Regions from separate parts of the Homo sapiens genome. Here region 2 is linked to region 1. Evidence: promoter capture Hi-C in 16 types of primary human blood cells and fetal thymus (Javierre and others, 2016). All regions are on one chromosome and are shown on one strand. Each heading gives the region's core, a stretch centred on a gene start or on the middle of the fragment in contact. The rest is flanking DNA. Distances are from core to core; before and after follow the strand shown.

Region 1 (3,734 bases), core at 43-2,542:
CTTGCTCTTAGTTACCTGTGTCTAAATTAAGCTGAACCTCTGGGCCTTAGCTATTTCTAAACAGGCATCACGATTTACTAAGGTTAATGCCTGAGGGAACATTAACCTTGCAGACACTAATCTAATTCAGTGTCATCACAAGTGCATAATGCAGGAGTTTGGAATTTTGCCAAAAAGCACTATTCAAATGAACATTTAGTTGGCAAGGGGTGGGAAGGCGGGTGTGGAAAAGGGAAGGAGAACACCAGAAATGGCTCTATAGATATTTTCATGCCTTTTCTTTTCCCTCTCCCCTCAAAGGTTACGTTTAAGTATTGCAGAGAGGCGCTAAATGGAATCTTCATATTATTATGAAGAAATCCCAATGAACGCGTTTTATCCCACGGCAAGTTCCAGATGCTCACAATTACTCAACATTCACTGAGCATCTTTTATGTTATATGGCTGACCTTGTGCTAGGGTGTGTACACAAAGATGAGTAATTGTAAACGATGGCAGTATGCAGAAGCACCTCAGGGCGCCTAATGTTAGCTGACGAAGGCACCATTAAGGAGGTCACAGTTTGGCTAAAGGGCCCCCAAAGGATGAGACAACTGTGTAATCCTAGCTCTATAGAGATCATTACCAAGTCTTTGCCATACAAAGTTTGGGCTTCAGGTGAAATGAGAAGGGCAAGGTTCTGCCCAAGAGGGTCCAGGGCCGGATCTCTTGATCTGTGTCTATGCCCACACCCTGCATCTCAGCTTGCAGACACTAATAGGGTTTGCCAGTTTCAAGGGCGCAGGGCTACATCTTCCGGAAAAGGTGGCATTTGAAGGTGGTAAGAGGCCAACGACTGGAGGTGGCGGCGAAGGGCTAGGTAAGACAGAATAAATGAAAAAGCCAAGACATTTCTGGCAAATAACCTTTCACCTAGGTCCCCGACCCTTCCATTTCCCCAGGCCTGAAACGCTCCCGAATCCCCGAGTCCTCCACTTTCCAAGCGCTGGGCATTGGTTAAGGCTGTAGGAGCAGGGAGTCCCCCGCTCTAAGAGAGTTCCTCAGTTCCGATCTTTTTCAAACCGCTTTCCTCCCAGGCCCAGCCTGGGGGGCCTGCGGCTCGGGTCCAGCTTCCACGGCCACCCTGGGCTGGTGACACGCAGGCGCCGGAATCGAAGCCACGCTGTGTCTTTCCAGCCAGGTCTCTGCGCCAGACGAGGGCGGGCGCCGCGGAGCGCTTCCCGTGTGCGGGGCTTCCCACAATGCACCGGGCCGGCAGTGGCGGCGACCGCGGCGGCGCTCTAGCTGCGGCATGTCTGCGTCTCTACTGCTCTGGGAGGAGGAAGAGAAGGAGGAAGAGGAGGAGGAGGAGGAGGGGGAGGAAGAGGAGAAAGGCGCAGGGGTGGGAGCTGTTGCCGAAGCTGCCACAGCAAAAGTTCTCCCCCCTCCCCCCTTCCCCTCCTCTCAAGGCCCCTAGAAAGGTTGGAGCTGCCGCCGCCTGCAGTCGGTGACCGCGCGACTCGGCGCCCGCCCGCGGTAAAGCGCTCGGCCTGGCAGGCCCGGGCCCGGGGGAGGGCGGGGGAGGGGGAGGGGGCGGCGCGCGGGGGGAGCGCGCGGCGGTAACGGCCTGACCCCGGGGGGAGCGAGCCGTGGCGAGGCTGGGGGTGGCCAGGGGGCCAGCCGAGGCCGAGGGAAACGCTGGGGCTGGCTGGGGGACGTGAGGAAGCAGGGCGCGGAGGGTGGGTTGGGGGGTTGAGGAGGGATAATGACGGGGGTGGCGGAGGCGAGAAGGCGGCCTCCGAGGCTGGAGGCGGGTGTCAGAGGTAGGGGAGGAGGTGGGATGTTTGCACGGGGAGGCCGGAGGGTGCTGGGTGTGGGTGTGAAAAGGCTAGGGAGACACCAGGGCTCTGTCCACCGTGCCTGGTGCAGTGCTTTATGCACCGCAGGCCTCAGTCACTGTTGCTGCCGGAGTGTGCTCTTTGGGAGAAGGGAAGGGCAGGGGTTGGAGAAAAGGGAATGCTTGCAGGAAACGTAGTGGGAGTGCGAACAGGGCGAGGGGCCGGAGGAAAGATGCCGGAGAGGTGGAGGAATGCGGGGAGGTGGCTGTGGAGGAGTCTTGAGGATTCTGGGGGGTGTTCATTGTGCAGATACGTTAGGTATTTCATTATGGAAAGAACTGAAGCGTTTCTCAGGGAAGGAAAGAAGGGAGATAGGAGTTCCCGTGAATAGAAAGGATCGCGTTTGAAGCAAGAGGGAGTGCTAAATAGTAGAGAAGATGCAGGGAATGCATAATAGAATAGACAGATGTAGTATAATTAATAAATATTGGCCTAAGTACTGAAGAGTTATTCCAGATGGGCCGGGATGGCCTAGTTCCGAACCTGTGTGGGCTGTTCAGTAGATGACATCTGGTAAGTGTGGGTCTGGGCCGTGGTTGGGGTCACTGAGAATTAGATTTTAGTCTGTAGTTTGGTCTGTGACATTTTAGACGTGCACCAATGAGTATGAGAACCTCTGAAGCAGACCTTGAGAAAGGGTCTGGCCTGTGGGGATTCCTTAGGCTATGGAGCTTCGATTTTAGAAAATTTGAAGTATTAACACTTACCCGAGGTTGGGTAAATACTATCCTGGCAAACGCTGGAATGGAAATTAATTGACTTGGTGGTTTTCTTCACTGCCCAGTTTATCTGGTCCAGGAGAATTGGTGCCGTATTATTCAGCCTGGATTGCAGTACACAAGATTATAATTAATGGTCGGGGGGAAGACATGCTTGCTGGCTCTTCTTTAGATACTTCATTTGTAGCTCAAATTAGTTGGCTGGATTGGTTCCATAAATCTGTGGCTGGTGGGAGATCTTCTGCCATTCACAGTTCCTGAAGTGAACTGTGAGGGAGTTCTCCAGTGAGAGAATACTCTCATTCAGGCATGATGGCATTGAAGAAAACGTATCAGCCAGCAAAGTGTGGGCCTGCAGAATGGAGGAGCTAGAATATCTGTTTTGGTTTTAGGTTGCAAGGAGGTCAGGACTAGTTATCAGAAGGTCTAGGGGAACCTAGGAGACTGGACGACTCTAGAGCCAGGTTGGAGGGAGGATTAGCATCTCTATGTCAGGAAATGAACCAAGCTCTCTCTGGATTTGCTGAGCTCACACCAGACCAGATTTCCAAGAGGGAACTCTGGGCTAGAACCATACTCTTAAAAACTACCCGGATATTATTCACCTTTTATTAAGAAAAAACTATATACAGCTGGGCGCGGTGGCTCACACCTGTAATCCCAGCACTTTGGGAGGCCGAGGCGAGCGGATCACCTGAGGTCAGGAGTTTAAGATCAGCCTCGCCAACATGGTGAAACCCCATCACTATGTGAAACCCCACCATGCCAGGCTGGTGTCGAACTCCTGGCCTCAAGTGATCCGCCCGCCTTGGCCTCTCAAAGTGCTGGGATTACAGGTGTGAACCACCATGCCTGGCCAGGTCTTTTTTAAACATAGTATGCTGTACTCAATTTTATTGTCATCATGGCATGAGAAGGCTAGTCTTCCTTCCCTTTTCCCTCACCAGCACTGTATATTATCTGTTCTTTTAATTTTTGTAAGCAGAATGCACTTAAATATGTCATTATTGTCTTTCTACCCTTTTTAAAAAAATTTTTATTTATTTATTTTTTTGAGACGGAGTTTCACTCTTGTTGCCCAGACTGGAGTGCAATGGCGTGATCTCGGCCCACTGCAACCTCCACCTCCCGGGTTCAA
Region 2 (3,719 bases), core at 1,148-3,647, 3.8 Mb after region 1:
TGCCAGGCTTTCTTCTAGGCCTTTGTACCATATGCTGTTTCTTAGGCATGGCATTCCTTTCCTCTTCCTTTCTTTTTTCTTTTTTTGGAACAGAGTCTCACTGTATCACCCATGCTAGAGTGCAATGGCGTGACTGCAACTCACTGCAGCCTCCTCTTCCTGGGTTCATGTGATTCTCAGGCCTCAGCCTCCCAAGATGCTGGGATTACAGACATACAACACCTTGCCCATCGTGGCCTCCTCTTGCTTTCTTCCTTACCTTCTCATAAATTCTGTTTCATTTCCATAAGATTCCTTGCAACTTTTTTCCTTCCACTTCTTTTTTTTTTTTTTCCTTTTTGAGACGGAGTCTCTCACTGTCGCCCAGGCTGGAGTGCAGTGGGGTGATCTCGGCTCACTGCAACCTCTGCCTCCCAGGATCAAGCAATTCTTGTGCCTCAGCCTCCTGAGTAACTGGGATTACAGGTGCCCGCCACCACGCCCAGCTATTTTTTTTTTTGTTATTTTTATAGTAATAGAGATGGGGTTTTACCATGTTGTCCAGGATGGTTTCAAACTCCTGACCTCAAGTGATCCCCCGGCCTTGGCCTCCTAAAATGCTGGGATTACAGGCATGAGCCACCATGCCCAGCCCTTTTCTTCAACTTCGATCATAGCTCCTATCATAATAAAATTGTTCATCTACTTCCTCAAAGCAGGCCTTTTACCCATTTGGTACTTAAAGGAAAGGATCTTTAGGTATAAACTAGGTACTCAGTAGTATTCATCATATTGCTGATATAAAGATTTATTTACTCTGTTTTTAGTTGAGACTATTAAGACAGGTGGTTTAAAGTAAAGGGCATTTCAGGGTATAAAGATTTTAAGTGCTATTGGGCCCTTAGTGATTGGTTAGCCTTAGGCTCTGTAGTACTACACATGGCTTAAAACATTTATTAATGAATTGTACCGAATATTACTTTTTTCTTATAATCTTGTGGAATAATCATGTTTTAGCTCCTACAAGTGCTGGGAAGACTCTTGTGGCAGAATTACTTATTTTGAAGCGGGTTTTGGAAATGCGGAAGAAAGCTTTGTTTATTCTTCCCTTTGTTTCTGTGGCTAAAGAGAAGAAATACTACCTCCAGGTAATGTTTTTTACTAAGTTTGAAATAGTGAAAGGCTCATTATTGGCAGTCTTGGTTTCATTCATTTGAAATAGAATTATAAAAGCAAGTGGAAAACAAAGTTTCTTCATTGTGCCCTATGTAGCTTTAAGAGGCTACTGCCAAAAGCATTAAAAATTTACAGCAAGGGGCTGGGTGTGGTAGCTCACGCCTGTAATCCCAGCACTTTGGGAGGCCAAGGTGGGCGGATCATCTGAGGTCAGGAGATCGAGACCAGCCTGGCCAACATGGGGAAACCCCATCTCTACTAAAAATACAAAAATTAGCTGGGTGTTGTGGCGCACACCTGTAATTCCAGCTACTCGGGAGACTGAGGCTTGAACCTGGGAGGTGGAGGTTGCAGTGAGCCGAGATCACGCTATTGCACTCCAGCCTGGGCAACAGAGTAAGACTCTGTCTCAAAAAAAAAAAAATTAAAAAAATTTACAGAAGGAAATTAAAAGAAAATTATTATTGCATTAAGGAGAAGGGGCCATCAAATCAAAAGAATAATTGGTGAAAATTGTGTAAAAATTTGTAAACCTTTTCTTAGGAAATAAACAGAATATTTAAACTAGCATATAAACACGCACATTAAGAATCAGCATTTAACTGAACAGTAGGACTAGACTGAAGCATAGAAAGGAAAGAGTGTTTAAGGAAGTGTATCCTGCCCTAATTGAGGACTATTTAGGAATATTTAGGGGATGAAGGTCAAGATCCATTGGTGCTTAGGTAAAGCTCCAGGTATGTGATCTGTTCCTCTGTTCTGCAAAAATGACTAATAGTAGTTTACATCAATATGATGCTCACAGTTTTTAGGGCATTTTCACAAATACAATATTTTATTAAATGGAATAAATTTACTGTTGTGATTTCTGCAGTGAAAAATATGTGCTTTTGAAATGGAAAGATTGTTATACTGATTGTTAAAGAAATGTGGGTTCTAGTCCCAGTTTTGCCACTAACTATGTCTTTAGGCCGGGCATATAACTGGCTGGGCCTCAGTTTTTTTATTTGTAAAATTAGGATGTTAACCCTTAGCCCTGTGGGTTAACTTAGTAAACACTCAGGAAAATTTTATTGAATGAATAGCTCTAAATTTCTATGGTTCTATAAATCTTTTTAATAGTTATTTCAGAGGCACAGTAGCCAACAAAGCTGGTCATACATGGTAACATCACTCAACTTAGACCCAAAGTAACGAAATGATGAAAGGATCCTTTTTATTGAAAGGTATGTTAGTTAAAAGTTAAACTAAAAAAAAAAAAATTATTATTAAAGTCCCACTGAATTTGACTTTTAAAAACTTTTCTTCCAATTACATTAAAAAATTGGTCATTAGTAGGATAATGAGACTATTTTCCTCATGAAGTATAAATTTGTTTCTTTAAGTGTTATAGCTAGTTTCTTGCTATTTATTAGATTAAAAATGTTAGTGCTTAAGGTAGTTTTTCTCCAATTTTAATTCCTCTAAATAGCTCTTAGAAGTTTTTAGATTATTATGCTGTCATTAAAATGGCATAATTTTATTTGACTCTTAACAGTTTTGTCAGTTCTAAACTTTATATTTTTAGTATATGATCTAAAAAGAACCAGTGTGTCCTGGCCAGAAACAACTGATGACAGTAATCTGGTAGATGTCTTTAGATACTTATGTCTATGTTCTGGGATAGAACCAGTTTATAACTCTTGAATTTCAAGTTTTTTCACCTGTATTGTTCCTTTTTACTCAATTCAGAGTCTGTTTCAGGAAGTAGGAATAAAAGTAGACGGTTATATGGGCAGCACCTCTCCATCAAGGCATTTCTCTTCATTGGATATTGCAGTCTGCACAATTGAGAGAGCCAATGGTCTGATCAATCGCCTCATAGAGGAAAATAAGATGGATCTGTTAGGTAAGAAAGTTAGAAAATAAGTAAATACTTTCTATTGCTATTTTTGATGGAATGAAGTGGAGCTGTTGTGATTTCTCTAGGTCCCATTTGTTTTCCTATTGTCTATTATCTACTTCTGGAGGCAAGGATTGGCATCTGTAATGTTAGGAACGCTGTGTTTATAAGTTTTGTGTCCTGCTGCTGTTATTGACTCCGTTACGTTGCATTTTTGTACTTTACAAAACGTAGATTATATCCTTGAGCCCTCAATAATTTCTCCTTGCTTCTTTCCTATCTAAACTCTACCAGGAATAGAAGGAGGCCTGCTGGGCCAGATCTGCCATTTTGTGGTTAGTGTATATGGGTTTTTGTTATTATATTCTGCTGCTATGATGTCTATTTTGGGCTTGGACCCAGAGTCTGTCATTTAGCATGGAAATGGTAGGAAGCTAAAGAAACTGACACTCTATTTGAGCTTGGGATTGTGGGAAGATTTTCTATCTTAATGCATTTTTTTGCCATTATGGAAAGGCCATTATGTAGAGGTAGCAACAGGAATAGAAGGATTGCAGCAGCAGAAGTAGCAAGAATATCAGCTAATTATTGAGAAGCTGGTGAACTTAAAAATACCATGGTAAAGTTATGGTAGGGTAGGGGTGGAGGGTGGGAATCAGACATAGGCTATGCTCCATAAAGC

Evidence for each region. Contacts are between HindIII fragments. The CHiCAGO score rates a contact against its expected background, and 5 or more counts as called.
Region 2: a contact is called between a fragment that was not itself captured here and the fragment with the promoter of ZNF148 in region 1, in 1 of 17 cell types (neutrophils). The highest score is 5.0, in neutrophils.

What each region holds. Positions count from the first base shown.
Region 1 is chr3:125,372,883-125,376,616 of GRCh38, reverse strand. It overlaps ZNF148 (zinc finger protein 148), which reads left to right and starts at 1,292. Exons shown (of 9, transcript NM_021964.3): 1 at 1,292-1,515. LOC105374080 (a long non-coding RNA gene) reads right to left here and starts at 1,191. Exons shown (of 3, transcript XR_924427.3): 1 at 1-1,191. RefSeq lists enhancers at 968-1,017, 1,128-1,397 and a silencer at 1,508-1,557. The HindIII fragment of the contact is 7,036 bases long and covers 1-3,734 here.
Region 2 is chr3:121,538,757-121,542,475 of GRCh38, reverse strand. It overlaps POLQ (DNA polymerase theta), which reads left to right. Exons shown (of 30, transcript NM_199420.4): 3 at 997-1,127; 4 at 2,887-3,043. Among named protein-coding and RNA genes, the nearest start is that of POLQ, 5.4 kb to the left of the region's middle. The HindIII fragment of the contact is 2,647 bases long and covers 1,074-3,719 here.